Linked DNA regions of Homo sapiens: all the other regions are linked to region 1. The links are contacts of gene promoters, found by promoter capture Hi-C in human tissues and cell types (Jung and others, 2019). All regions are on one chromosome and are shown on one strand. Each heading gives the region's core, a stretch centred on a gene start or on the middle of the fragment in contact. The rest is flanking DNA. Distances are from core to core; before and after follow the strand shown. Region 1 holds the start of SCARF2 (scavenger receptor class F member 2). Region 2 overlaps PI4KA (phosphatidylinositol 4-kinase alpha). Region 3 overlaps PI4KA (phosphatidylinositol 4-kinase alpha). Region 4 overlaps PI4KA (phosphatidylinositol 4-kinase alpha). Region 5 overlaps PI4KA (phosphatidylinositol 4-kinase alpha).

Evidence for each region. The method cuts DNA at HindIII sites, captures the fragments that hold promoters and counts their contacts. A contact is called where the count stands out against the background at its distance.
Region 2: a contact is called between a fragment that was not itself captured here and the fragment with the promoter of SCARF2 in region 1, in 2 of the 25 tissues and cell types used here (liver and thymus).
Region 3: a contact is called between a fragment that was not itself captured here and the fragment with the promoter of SCARF2 in region 1, in 1 of the 25 tissues and cell types used here (hippocampus).
Region 4: a fragment that was not itself captured here is called in contact with the fragment with the promoter of SCARF2 in region 1 in 3 of the 25 tissues and cell types used here (dorsolateral prefrontal cortex, hippocampus and lymphoblastoid cells).
Region 5: a contact is called between a fragment that was not itself captured here and the fragment with the promoter of SCARF2 in region 1, in 3 of the 25 tissues and cell types used here (IMR-90 fibroblasts, dorsolateral prefrontal cortex and spleen).

What each region holds. Positions count from the first base shown.
Region 1 is chr22:20,436,363-20,439,153 of GRCh38, forward strand. It overlaps SCARF2 (scavenger receptor class F member 2), which reads right to left and starts at 1,463. Exons shown (of 11, transcript NM_182895.5): 1 at 1,220-1,463. The coding sequence starts at 1,392. It overlaps LOC107985588 (a long non-coding RNA gene), which reads left to right and starts at 1,634. Exons shown (of 2, transcript XR_001755623.2): 1 at 1,634-2,149. The HindIII fragment of the contact is 17,878 bases long and covers 1-2,791 here.
Region 2 is chr22:20,848,417-20,851,207 of GRCh38, forward strand. All of the region lies in intron 1 of PI4KA (phosphatidylinositol 4-kinase alpha), which reads right to left. Among named protein-coding and RNA genes, the nearest start is that of PI4KA, 9.0 kb to the right of the region's middle. The HindIII fragment of the contact is 9,318 bases long and covers 1-2,791 here.
Region 3 is chr22:20,816,540-20,819,330 of GRCh38, forward strand. PI4KA (phosphatidylinositol 4-kinase alpha) reads right to left here. Exons shown (of 55, transcript NM_058004.4): 7 at 1,944-2,010. Among named protein-coding and RNA genes, the nearest start is that of PI4KA, 41 kb to the right of the region's middle. The HindIII fragment of the contact is 4,714 bases long and covers 1-2,791 here.
Region 4 is chr22:20,749,665-20,752,455 of GRCh38, forward strand. PI4KA (phosphatidylinositol 4-kinase alpha) reads right to left here. Exons shown (of 55, transcript NM_058004.4): 26 at 2,010-2,091; 27 at 1,629-1,712; 28 at 241-330. Among named protein-coding and RNA genes, the nearest start is that of SERPIND1, 23 kb to the right of the region's middle. RefSeq lists enhancers at 662-781, 1,803-2,600. The HindIII fragment of the contact is 5,728 bases long and covers 1-2,791 here.
Region 5 is chr22:20,720,847-20,723,637 of GRCh38, forward strand. It overlaps PI4KA (phosphatidylinositol 4-kinase alpha), which reads right to left. Exons shown (of 55, transcript NM_058004.4): 43 at 452-572. Among named protein-coding and RNA genes, the nearest start is that of SERPIND1, 52 kb to the right of the region's middle. The HindIII fragment of the contact is 5,585 bases long and covers 1-2,791 here.

The sequences.
Region 1 (2,791 bases), core at 213-2,712:
CCCTCCCCCTCTCCAGGCACCGCCCCGCCCGCCGCCGCCGCTGCATTCCTGGGGCCGGGGAGGCCCGGGAGTCCGCGGCGGCGGCATCGATGCGAAGCAGATGGCGGGCCAGGCCGGCCCCCGCCCCGGAGGCGGGGCTCGCAGCGGGGAGGGGTCTGCGCGCCTCCGGACCAGAGTTCGGAAACCCCGCGCTGCCCCCTCGCAGCCCCTTGTCTCTGGCGCCGAGCCCCTGGACTCGGCTTGCCCCGGGTCCGTGGCTCAGGCGCCCCGACGCGACCCAGCTCGGAGCCCGGCGGCCGCCTCTGCGGCTGCCAGCCCGTGCGGCGTCTCCAATCCGCGCCAAGGCGCCCCCACACGCCCGCTCCTCACCCCTGCGTGGAGATGCCCTTGACCTTGTGGCCTTTGGCCAGCCCACCGGCTCCCCCGACCCCAGCTCCTAACTCCTGGCGTCCGGGGCTCACCTCTCTGCCCTCCGTGCAAACTCCCGGACTCGCCCCCCCACCGGCCGGGCCTGTCGCCTGCCTGTCCCACACTGGCTTCCCCAGCCGGCGCCCCACATTTGCGCGGCCCCTTCTTGCACCCAGAATCCCCACCTGGTTGTCGCCAGGGTTCCCACATCCTCCGGTCCCCTGTGCCTGTCATAGTCCTTCCGCCTCCCGCTTCTGGTCCACTTCGAGCGCCGGCTCCTCGACGCTCGCCTGGGTCACCACCCTCCCACCCGCGCCCGCTCTAAGACGCGAATCTGTCTTTCCAAGTCTGGCTTGCTCCAGGACCTCCCCGGCTAGCACCGCTCCTCCTCCCCTGACCTTCCTCCTCACTCCCACTCCCGGCTCCAGTCGGACTAGTGCGGGGCTTTAGCACATGCAGTTCCTTTGGCTTGAATGCCCTTCCCCAGCTTTTCCCCGTGGACTTCACAACTCGGTCAAGGGTCCCTTTTTCCAGGTCTTTCCTGATATCCCGGACAACGCGTGTCATCCCCTGGGTGCCCACGGCACTCCATCCTCCCCTCAGGTGACTTCTCGTCCAGGGTTCCCTGGGATGCACTGTCGTGGCCCATGGCCGAGGCTGGGCCTGGAACGGAGCCGCGCTGGCTAGGGAGCCGAAGGGGCCCACACTTGGCGTAGGAAGGTTCCGGTAGCCCCCTCCCAATGCCCGGCGCCGCCACACCACTGCCCAGAGCGTCCCTCTCGCCCCCTCCCCCAGCCAGGCCGGCTCCTACCCGGGAGCACGGCACACGTTGCGGCCGCGAGGGTTCAGTTCCTGAGGCGCCACGGTGTCCGGCAGCATCCAGAGCAGCAGCAGCAGCAGCAGCGACGGCAGCAGCGGTGACGGCGGCCCCCCGGCTCCCCGGCGCCGCGCCGGCCCGGCCCCCCGGGGCCCTGCGCCCTCCATGAGGCGCGGGGCAGGCGCGGGGCGGGCACGGGCGCGGGTGCGGCCGCAGCGAGAGCGGCCGGAAGCGGAGTGCGAGGCCGGGCGGGGGGCGGCAGGAGGGGCGCCGAGCCGGGCAGGAAATTCCACATCGGCTCCCTGATCCCGGGCCAGCCGCGGCCGGCCAGGCGGCAGCGCCCGCCCCGCGCTCCAGACCCCACCCTCCGGCCTAGCCACCGCCCCTCCGCGCAGCCCCCGCCCCCATTTGGCCGCTCGCAAACTTGGGGGCGAACTTGGAGGAGGCCCGCCGAGCGCTGGTGGAGGGAGGGTCCGCCCGAGGAATCCCCGGTTCCCGCGCCTTTCCCTCCGCTCCCTAGACATCTACCGAAGCAGCCGCCCCTGCGCGCCCACTGCGTAGGCCAGGCCCGGGACGGGAAGGCGGATCGGGGACACGGACGCGACTCCGCAAGCCCACCCCCGCTCCCAGCGCCTCGGAACCGGCCAAGGGAGTGGGGCCCGCAGACAGCCCAGGTCGAGGCCGAAAGCCAACTCCACAGCACCCCACCGCGAAGTCCTTGTAGTGCTGGGGTGTGCGGTCAGCTCCCCCTGCGCACTCCTGCGCACTCAGAGCTCGCAAGGGGCGGACCGAGCAGGATGCTTGAGGCCTGTGGTAGACTCGGTCCGGACCAGAGGCCTGGGGGAAGGGGTCTCCGTAGGGACGGATGGGAGAGATACAGAGGAAGTAGAATGGCCAGGCTGTGGACTGCGGTAGGAAGTAGAGGTAAAGACAGAAGGAGACCCCCGGGATGGAAACCCTGCAGTCCTAGTTGAGGAGTGAAGGGGGCTGGGGGAGCCTGGGCGGTGGATTCTGCTGGCTGTCGGATTTCCAGGAGAGGCTGGGGCTAGAGAGTGGGAACTCCTGCATCAGGTAAGGTGGGTAACAGCACAGAGCAGAAGGAAGGTGTGGGAAGGGAGCAAGACAGAGGGACAGGCCCTAGGGAGCCAGCGGGGAAGCTGGACTTGGACTGGGAGGCAGCAGGGTGCGGGTCCCCGGGGGGCAACTGGGGCAGACCGACTCTGGAAGTTGGGCAGGGAGCACAAATGTCCCGTGTGTAGCCAGGTCCTAGTGAGGATGTTTGTCTTTTGGGGACTTGAGAGCTGGCAGAAGGCCTAAGCAGGGAGCGGGCACCTCCGTTCTTTGGGGAGCAGGCCACATGCGGCCCACAGGCTCACTGAGGGAGGGCAGGCAGACTCTGTCCAGGTGTGGCCAGATAGCCCCGAAGGGTGGGGCTGGAGGAGGGGGCTTGGAGGAGGAGCCACTGAAAGGCCCAAGGCCATGGGCATCACCAGGCTGGCACAGGCAGAGAGTGGGATGGGGAGGAGCAGGCCCCTCACTCAGCCATGCTGGTGCAGGAGGGAGGTG
Region 2 (2,791 bases), core at 191-2,690, 410 kb after region 1:
AGGACAAAATTGGAGGACTCATTCTTCCCAATTTCAAAACTTACTACAAAGCTAAAGTAATCAAGACAGTATACTAGCCAACATCAGGAAAGACATACAGACCAAATAAACCCTCACACTTACAGTCAACTGATTTTTGACAAGGGTTCCAGGACCCCTCAATGGAAAAAAGAATAGTCTTTCCAAGAAATCGTGCTGAGACAACTGGATATTCACATGCAAAAGAATGAAACTGGACCCCCATCTCATATCACATAAAATCTTAACTCAAAATGGATCAAAAACTCAAATGTAAGAGCTAAACTATAAAACTGCTAACAAAAAACACAGGTGTAAGTCTTTGTGACCTTGAAATTAGACAGTGGTTTCTTAGATACAACACAAAAAGCACAAGGGACAAAAGAAAAAAAAAATGACAAAATGGACATCATCAAAATTTAAAACTTTTGTACTTCAAAGAACACCATGAAGAAAGTGAAAAAGCCCACAGAATGGGAGAAAATATTTGCAAATCATATATCTTATTAAGAAACTTTTATCTAAAATAAAGAACTATTACAACTTAATTAAAAAAATACTACAATTTAAAATTGGGCAAAGAATCTGAATAGATATATCTCCAAAGAAGATCTACAAATACCCCAAAAGAGTGGCTGTTCTAGGATAGAATAGGCTGGCTCAACATCATTAACCATCAGGCAAATGCATATCAACAACAGAATAATAAGATCCCACTTCACATCCACTAGGATGGCTATAACTGGAAAGACAGACAATACAGAGTGTTGGTGACAATGTAAAGAAAACAAGCCCTCTGTACACCGTTGGTGGGAATGTAAATGGTGTAGTAACTTTGGAAAACAGTCTGGAGTTCCTCTAAAGGTTAAACCTAGAGTTATTGTATGGCCCAGCAATTCCACATCTAGTTAAAGACCCAAGAGAAATGAAAATATGTCTACAGAAACACTTGTACGTGAATTTCCATAGCAGCGTTATTTATAATAGTCAAAATGTAGAAACAATCCAAACATCCACCTACTAATGAATGGATAAAATATGGTATATGCATACAAATATTATTTAGTAATAAAAATGAAGTAATGAGATGCTACAACATGGATGAACCTTGAAAATACGCCAAGTAAAAACCATCATGGCAGGTGCAGTGGCTCACACCTGTAATCCCAGCACTTTGGGAGGCCGAGGCAGGTGGATCACAACAAGGTCAGGAGATCAAGACCATCCGGCTAACACGATGAAACCCTGCCTCTACTAAAAATACAAAAAATTAGCCGGGCGCAGTGGCGGGCGCCTGTAGTCCCAGCTACTCGGGAGTCTGAGGCAGAAGAATGGTGTGAACCTGGGAGGCAGAGCTTGCAGTGAGCCGAGATCGCGCCACTGCACTCTAGCCTGGGCTCCAGAGCGAAACTCTGTCTCAAAAAAAAATAAAAATAAAAATAAGCCACCACAAAAAACCACATCTTATAGAATTCTATTTCTACAAAATGTTCAGAATAAATCTACAGAGACAGAAAGTAAACTAGTGGTTGTCTAGGGATGGGGCTGGTAGGGCTGCAGGGTAACAGCAAGGTTTCTTTTGAGGGCAATGAAAATGACCTAAAATTGATCATGGTGATGGATGGACAACTCTGTGAATACACTAAATATGATGAACTGTACATTTTAAATGGGTAAATTTTGTGGTATGTGAATTATATCTCAAGAAAGCACTATTGAAAAACCTAGCCTATGAAGGATCAAATCAAACCACAAGCAACTGCCGACCAGAACAAAGCCCAACATTCCCTAAAGTAACACAACAAAAATCTAAACACTCAAGCCAGGCACGGTGGCTCGCCTGTTAACACCAGCACTTTGGGAGGCCAAGGCAGGTGGATCACTTGAGGCCAGGAGTTCAAGACTAGCCTGGAACCCCGTCTCTACTAAAATACAAAAAATTAGCTGACTGTGGTGGCGCATGCTAAAGGAGTCCCCATAGGTCTCTGGGACTATAAATACTCATTTAAAAAAAAATTTTTTTTTTTGAGACGGTGTCTTGCTCTGTCACCCAGGCTGGAGTGCAGTGGCGTGATCTCAGCTCACTGCAAGCTCCGCCTCCCAGGTTCATGCCATTCTCCTGCCTCAGCCTCCCCAGTAGCTGGGACTACAGGCCACCACGCCCAGCTAATTTTTTGTATTTTTAGTAGAGACGGGGTTTCACCGTGTTAGCCAGGATGGTCTGGATTTCCTGACCTCGTGATCCGCCCGCCTCGGCCTCCCAAAGTGCTGGGATTACAGGTGTGAGCCACCGCGCCCGGCCTACTAAAATTTTTTAAAATTTTCGCTGGGTACAGTGACTCAAGCCTATAATCTCAGCACTTTGAGAGGCTGAGGTGAGTGGATCACTTGAGCCCACGGTTTGAGCTAAGCCTGGGCAAGATAGTAAGACCCCATCTCTAAAAAAATTTTTCTTTTTTTACTTAGCCAGGTACAATGTGCGTGCCTGTAGTCCCAACTACTTGGGAGGCTGAGGCAGGAGGATCCCTCAAACCAAGGAATTCAAGGTGGTAGTAAGTTATGATCATGCCACTGCACTCCAGCCTGAGTGAAAAAGCAAAACTGTCTCCAAAAAAATGTAATTTCTATTTTTAAAAATGTCTAGGCCAGGCACAGTGGCTCATGCCTATAATCCCAGCACTTTGCGAGGCCGAAGTGGGCAGACGGCTTGAGCCCTGGAATTTGAGACCAGCTTGGGCAACACAGTGAGACCCTATCTATTTTTTTTTTAATG
Region 3 (2,791 bases), core at 209-2,708, 380 kb after region 1:
GAAGTCCCAGCTACTTGAAAGGGCAAGGCCAGAGGATCATTATGACTGCACCCCTGCACTCCAGCCTGGGTGACAGAGCAGGACCCCAACTCAAAAAAAAGAAAAAGTCCAAGTAAAACAGGTAGTTTGAGAGGAAACTCAGAAGGCACAGGGTCTGCTGCTGTCTGTCCTACAGTGAGGCATTTCAGAGAGCAGGGCTCGCTTGTCTCGTCACCACTACAGGCAAAGTGGGCGGCAGCCAAGTCTGATGGAGTGATACGTGGGGATCTCGCAGTCAGCCACATTAGTGTGCTCCCATCTGCCACTTACTGGATGTGCTCAAAGTGGGGCAGCGGTCATGGAGAGGAGCCCTCACCACAGAGGGTGGACAATGAGCTGTTTACCAGGAAAAGGGAAGCCTCCAAGGGCACATCATGGCCATCCTAAAATGCCCCAAAGGCAGGCAGGTGGCAGTGAGATTTTCAGAGCCTGGAGGAATACATTCTATACTTAAACAAGGAGTTGTCTCTAAGAGGTGCGATTCTGAGTGGCTGAAATTAGCTCTTATATTCTAACACATATATAGAATGTAACCTGTTACATTCTCACAGATCTAAGAGATGGAAAGCTTCCTACATTTATGTAAGCCCAGATATTCCCTTTTTCCTTCAAAATTCCCCTCACATCTCTCGAAACTGTCTTGAGACATGCTCTTTTAACAAATAGCATTATTCAAAAAAGGAGAGACTATACTGAAGCATGGAATTCTGCCTTCCCCATTTGCTGTCCCTTAATCTGGGTCTTACTTCCATCAAGTAAGGTAGAAATAATTTTAACATGTGTCTGACATGGCACAGGGTAGTCACATGAATCCAATTCAGTAAATTATGTAAAAGTACTTTGTGAACAGCAGAGCTCTATAAAAAGTAGTAATGGGCTGGGTATGGTGGTTCACGGCTGTAATCCTAGCACTTTGAGAGACCAAGGCAGGCGTTCCCTTGAGCCTAGGAGTTCCGGACCAGCCTGGGCAACATGGCAAAACCCCATCTCTACAAAAAATACACAAGTTAGTGGGCGTTGTGGAGGGTGCCTATAGTCCTAGCTACTTGGGAGGCTGAGGTGGGAGGATCACTTGAGCCCAGAAGGTTGAAGCTGCGGTGAGCCATGATCATGCCGCTGCACTCCAGCCTGGGTGGCAGAGTGAGACTCTCTCTCCAAAAAAAAAAAAAAAAAAAAAAAAAAAAAAAAAAAAAAGTAGTAACAGTAGTATTACTACATTCTTTAATATTATCTACATACTTAATGTCATTAAAAAAAAATGTCCAGCCAGGTGTGGTGGCTCATGCATGTAATCCTAGCACTCTGGAAGGAAGAAATGGGTGGATCACTTGAGGTCAGGAGTTCAAGACAAGCCTGGCCACCATGGTGAAACCCTGTCTCTACTAAAAATACAAAAATTAGCTGAGCATGCTGGTGTGTGCCTGTAATCCCAGCTACTTGGGAGGCTGAGGCAAGAGAATTGCTTGAACCCAGGAGGCAGGGCCTGCAGTGAGCCGAGACTACACCACTGCGCTCCAACCTGGGCAACAGAGCCAGACTCTATCTCAGAAAAAGAAAAGAAATATCCACCATTAGTACTTCCACCTGAAAAGAACTTTTACAAGTTAAAGTGCAAAAATTCTGATGGCAGGTATATAGGGGTCTGTAAGTTATTTTCTGTACTTTTCTCTCTAAATAAAATATTTGAAAATTAAATGTACTTTTCTCTATATATAAAATATTTGAAAATTAAATTTTAAGAAACTTAAATGAAAACAGAAAATAAATGCTTCCTAAAAGCTTGGCACTCTAGGTCCATCCATGACAACAGAGTTAGTATCAGCATCCTTAATATCACGAGAAGTCACTGTGAGCCTGTTCTCCAAGTATTACGTCAAAATATTCTTCGGAAAGGTGAAGCCCACCTTCAAAGTAGTGAAAGGCAGATCCTCCAGGGGAACTGGGAGGGGGCATGCCGCGTTCAGGGCTGACCTGAAACACACAACCACAGTTACATATCAGAAAAGACCAGTGAGACCTCCATCAGATTTGTCTTAGACAAGGTCCTCTCTGCCAGCCCAATGTTTGTACTTCAAGTTCTGGTTGAAGCCTCATTTCCTTCCTAAAGCCCATCACAGCTACAGCATTCTCTACTACATGCTATATCACTAAATTCTTTGTGTTTAGCCGTATATTTGACACTTGATTACTGAGCTGAATTGTCCTCAGTGTTTTGTGTTTTTGTCTTTTCTCCATGAGTCAATTATATACTTCTTAAGGGCACCAACTGTCTTCCAGGCAAAATAGCATTTGGCACCCAACTGCTATGAAACATATACTTTATGACTATGAAATCACTTATAAATCTTATGTTGGGGACTAGCCTCAACACCACCTGTAGGGTATTTGATGTTTGGTGGCGACAAAGGAATGAGAAGAAACAGGTTAAGAGTTTATAAAGGCGGGAGCCAGGGGACCAGAGCAAATCAGAGGCCGCAAAGGCCTAGAGTTTTGGTTTTTACACTATTTATTGAGTATAATCACTTAGATTTAAGAAGCAGATGTTTAGGGCGAAACGGTGAAAGGGAGGCAGTGTGTCATATGTGTAATCTATAGTAGCGGCAGTTTAAATGAATTTTTTTTGTGTTTAAACAGTATATTTTCAACTTATTGGACAGCAGTTAGTGGGAGCAGGCTTAACTAGGAGTCTGTATGTTTGGCCATATTTTCATGTTTTAAAGGAGTGGTTTTTTTTTTTTTAACACAGTGTTTA
Region 4 (2,791 bases), core at 144-2,643, 310 kb after region 1:
ACCTCACCTGGTGTGAGCCGTCAGATGCCCTCCTTGTGCCCTGGCCAGCACTGGCCCCACAGGCGCTCCTAACACACAGAGCAGCCTCTGAGGCATCTATTATTCTCAGGCCCTAGACTGATGCTTCCAGTCTCCATTCACACTAGTGCTATTTGGATTTTGAGTTCTTCATGTCTCTGTAAAGCTTTTTTGGGAGTTTGAAGGAGCTTATGGCAATTGCCTTTTGATGGTTTCAAGTACCTGCAGGTGGGACTTGGTGACGGTAGGTGCCCACTTCATGGCCTCCTGGAGGATCATCCCACAGCGTGCAGCGAAGTCCTTCACAATGCTCTGGAAGAGGGTGAAGCTGCTTCTCAACAACCCGAGGTCAGTTCATCTGAGCTGCCGTAGTGACTGTCATGGGCTGAACTATGTCTCCCCAAATCCCTATGCTGCGCCTTAACTGGTACCAGTACCTCAGAGTGGAACTCATTTGGAGATAGGGCTTTAAAGAGGTGATTCAATTAAAAGGCTGATAGGGTAGGTCCTGATCCAATCTGGCCAGTATCCTTCCTTACGTGTGTGCAGAGGAAATCTGGACACACAGAAATACTGGGGCAGGGAGGAGGGTGTGCACAGAGGGAAGAACACGTAAAGACACAGGGAGAAGGCTGCCATTCACAAGCCAAGGAGAGAGGTCTCCACAGAAACCAGCTCTGCCAACACTTTGATTTTACACTTCGGCCCTCAGAACTGTAAGACAATCAATGTCTGTCAAGACCTTTCAAGCTGCCCAGTCTATTGTCTTTTGCTACAGAAGCCCAAGAGACTAGCACAGCCACTAAGTTTGAACCTCAAGGCCCCTGGGGCCAGGAAGCCCACACACACTATGATCTGTATGTAATTCCTGCACAAGGTTTGTGGCAGAATCTACAAGAATAACATGTCACAGGGACACTGTGCAACTTGTGTCCTGGGTCTGGGACTGGATGGAAGGGCAGGCTCTGCGTGGCAAAATCCTCTTCGGTGCCACACCACTCTGTGGGAAACTCCCCATTGACAGCTGGTCTGGCAGAGGTCCAGAGGTAGGACATGACTCAGCCCAGGCTGAAGGAGCTGTGAGCTGAGTTGCAGTCTTGCCACAGTGAGGGCTCTGAGACCGAGTTGGGGAGAGGAGAGACCCAGTACATCCTCCTCTTTTGGAGTGATTTATTCTGCCAGTTTCCCCATTGGATAGCACAAGTCAAAGGCATGATCCCCTATTACCACAATAACAAAATGTCAGTGCACCTCAGAGAAGTGAAGTCCACCTGAAAATCATGCTTGTGCGACGCAGACTCGAGAGGCTATAAACTGGCTGGTAGCTGAAGACCTCTTTGGCAGCTAAACCGAGAACACAGCTGAGTCAACATGGCTGAGGTGGGGGAGCTGGGCTTGGAAGACAGAGCGACCTGGGGGCAGCCAGCTCCCCTTGCACTCGGTGGAGCCTGGCAATGGCTTGGTCTCCTCACTGGGGGATGGGGCCAGCACCACCCACACCTCAAATTGCTGGGGACTGGGTGAGCTCATGCAGGTTGACCATCTCGTGGAAATACTCAGGGAATTGTGGTAAAGATGGCCCTTAGTGCAGGGGATCGTGTCGGGCCTACCTCACGGGCTTCGTACGTGTCAGGAACCGTGATCCGGTAGGGGGCGTCGGGGATGTCATAGTAAGGCTGATCCTTGTGAATATCCTGCAAGCACAGCAAGACTCCCTCTTCCAAACTGCCTTCCCCAAGTTGCCACTAGCAACCACATGGGCCACCCCTACCCACCACCTGTCTGTCTGTGACAGGCCTCCATACTTGATGCAACTTATTGCAAAACACCAGGTGGATTTGGGCCCCCTCACCCCCAACTCGACACCTGTAGCATTAATTATGTTCAGGCTTATTGTCAGAGAAGCATGCCACAACACAGGGCGGACAGGGCCGGCGGGGTGGTGGTAGAGCGGGTGGTGTTTGGGCCCTAGGTCTCCTGGGGACACTCACAGCGCTCAGTGACAGTGACAGGGTCTGCAGGATGTCCAGCATGGTCTTCAGCACAGTCCCGCTCCAGAGCAAGTGGGGAAACCTGCACCAAGAGCCAGCTCTCAGGACCAAGAGCCAAACCTCCAAGGAAGGTCTGCTTCTAGGAGCCCCCTCAGCTGCCAGCCCGAGCCCATATCTGCTTCAGGCCAGCTGAAGGAGGAGGTCGGGAGGCCCTTGCAGCAGGATGCCTGGCCTCCTCAGGCTCATTGCAGTAAGGTGAGCAACGCCTGGTCAGAAAGGCTCCCCAGGCCCCTGCCAGCCCCACTTCTTAGGGCCAGACAAACCTGACACCAACTGCCTTGGTTATGCACTGGCCAGGACACCCCTCACTTTCCAAAGCAATCCTCTTAGTTTCTGACCAGGGTTCTCCATTATTTCTCACATAATGGAGAAAACAACAGTATCTACCTGACACCCTGGGGTAAGACAGGCCATGGGCTCCGATGGCCCCAGGGCTGAAGGAGAGGTGTCTCTGCACAGCTGTGACCCACCAGTGGCCCACTGCTCAGGAAGCCCAGCTCAGACACACGCCACGTGTGTGCTGGACTCGTTCTCGTGACCCCTGGCTGGCTCCTGACCACCTGTGGTGGCGCTGCTGCCTGGACCAGGCACACAGTATCTGCAACAGGCTCCAGAACCACTGGATACCTCTGGGGAGCTGCAGGCAGCCTCCATGTGGGTGTTTTGCTGCCTCTGGCCTTCTCACCTTGGAGAAGCTGGTCCAGCCCACCTGTGAGAGTTCT
Region 5 (2,791 bases), core at 99-2,598, 280 kb after region 1:
TCTTAATCTCTAATACTCGTTAACACTGACAGCTAATGCTCACATTAAACAGCGCTCTTTGAGGACCTCAATAAACATTTCTGACAGTGCAGGGGTCCTGAGGCTGTGCTATTTGGGAACCGCTGCCCTGGGCTGACGGCCCCTTCCTCACATGCAGTCACAGTTGTGTTGACCATGGAGACTCTGCAGAAGCAGCCACTGGAGCAGAAGGGTCTCACTCGCACTTGGGAGTGCAGGGTGGCATCGGACAGCAAGTTAGCAAAGGTGTCATGAAGGAGGGGTCCTGCTCCCCTGTGTGCTGAAAGGTGAGAAGTGCCCCAGCAAAGGGTGGGAGTGGAGGGGTCGGTGAGCTGGGGCAGTGCAGGCTGGCGAGAGCCCTGGGGGCTGTAGAAGGTGCTTGGCAGTGCACTGAAGACAGTAAGTGAGGCCTGTGGGAGGACAAAATACTCACGGTCTTTCTGGTGGCCCTCTTCATCTAGATAAATGTTAGTCTTCATGTTCCAGATGAACTGGTGTGCCAGAAGCTGGGATTTAGACGCTGCCCACAGAATATACTCCCGCACATAGCCCATCTGCAGGAGAGCAAGGTCCCTGTCAGCCAGGCTCGGCCCTCTCCATGAGGAGGGCCTTGTCAGCAGCTGCTGACTCCCGGCATTTGGTAGACCAGGCAAGGGTAAGGCCCGGTGGCTCTAGTGGTGTGGACAAGCTCTCCAGGATTGATGTTGAGTCCAGCCAGTGGCCAGGCCAAGTTCCAGCTGGCTGGGGGCTGGGACCTGGGGGGCAGGGTTGCAAAGCGGGCGACAGTCAGCCTTTGTCTCCTCTGTGTCTTCCCATGGGTTTAAGAAGCACAACTCTCAAACCAATTTCTGGAGTTGTCAAGTACGAGAAAAAGCAGGCTGGGTACTAAAAACTCACTTGTGAGCTGGTTGTTTAGAACAATGTTCCAAAGTGACAGACAGGTTCCAGAAACATGCAGAGATACCTCCTTCACAAACTGACACACTGATATGATTAGGTTTTGTGTCCCCACCCAAATGTCATCTTGAATTGTAATCCTCAGGTGTTGAGGAAGAGACCTGGTGGGAGGTGACTGGATCATGGGGACGGTTCCCCCTTGTTGATCTCATGACAGCGAATGAGTTCTCAGGAGATCTGATGGTTTTATAAATGTTTGACAGTTCCTCCTACACACACACTTGCTCTCTTTCGCTTGCTGCCAGGTAAGACGGACCTACTTCCCCTTCCACCATGATTCTGTTTCCTGAGGCCTCCCCAGCCACGTGGAACTGTGAGTCAATTAAGCCTCCTTTATAAATTACCCAGTCTCGGGAAGTTTTTTTGTTTGTTTGTTTGTTTTTGAGACAGAGTCTCGGTCTGTCACCCAGGCTGTAGTGCAGTGGTACAATCTCAGCTCACTGCAACCTCCACCTCCCAGGTTCAAGCAATTCTCTTGCCTCAGCCTCCCGAGTAGCTGGGATTACAGGCGCACACCACCACATCTGGCTAATTTTTGTATTTTTAGTAGAGACAGGGTTTCGCCATGTTGTTCAGGCTGGTCTTGAACTCCTCACCTCAGGTGATCCACCCACCTCAACCTCCCAAAGTGCTGGAATTACAGTTATGAGCCACCGCACCTGGCCAGGAAGTTCTTTATAGCAGTGTGAAAATGGACTAATATACACAACTGTGGTCACCATCCTAAGGACCTATCCTCCTCTTCCTTCTTGGTCATTTTCCGCCACTCATAGTAGTAACTCCAGTTTTTCTTTTTAATTAAAAAAATTTTTTTTGTTCCTAGAGCCATAAGTTTTGAAACTCCAGTTTTAATTCCATGCCCTAGGTTTAAAAAGGTGAGCTGGCCTTTCTGGGCAGCCTCCTGGAGTCTGTGGCCACTGATCTGGTGAAGTGTCCCTTGGATGGACATTTTTGACCTGGGTGAGTCGGGGGTGGTCTTACCACACAGGCAGAAGTCTTCACTTTGGGTTTCCCAATTCTAACCCGGCAAATGGATCTAAAGACAAACTATGAATGTTCAATGTGTAGTGTTTTTAAATATAAGTTTGCTTTTTAATTATGTAAACACTGACAGAGTTCCAAAGTCAAAATTATTAAATATGGTACATATCTGTCAGTTCCATCCTGATCTCTCCCTCTTTGGCCATTTTTATTAACTTTTGATTTACTGTTCCTTTTTTTTTTTGAGACAGAGTCTCGCTCTGTCTCCCAGGCTGGAGTGCAATCTCAGCTCACTGCAAGCTCCGCCTCCCGGGTTCACGCCATTCTCCTGCCTCAGCCTCCCGAGTAGCTGGGACTACAGGTGCCCACCAAGCCTGGCTAATCTTTTTTTGTATTTTTAGTAGAGACGGGGTTTCACCGTGTTAGCCAGGATGGTCTCGATCTCCTGACCTCGTGATCCACCCGCCTCGGCTTCCCAAAGTGCTGGGATTACAAGCGTGAGCCACCGCGCCCGGCCTACTGTTCCCTTTTTTTGTAAAAGTATAAACAAATATGTATATACATTTGTATTGCCATAGTGATATAAATTTTTTTAAACTTAAAAAATATTCCAGGCTGGGTGTGGTGGCACACGCCTGTAATCCCAGCATTTTGGGAGGCCGAGGCAGGTGGATCACCTGAGGTCAGGAGTTTGACACCAGCCTGACCAACATGGGGAAACCTCATGTCTATTAAATACAAAAATAGGCTGGGTGTGGTGGCTCACGCCCGTAATCCCAGCACTTTGGGAGGCCAAGGCAGGTGGATCACCTGAGGTTAGGAGTTCGAGACCAGC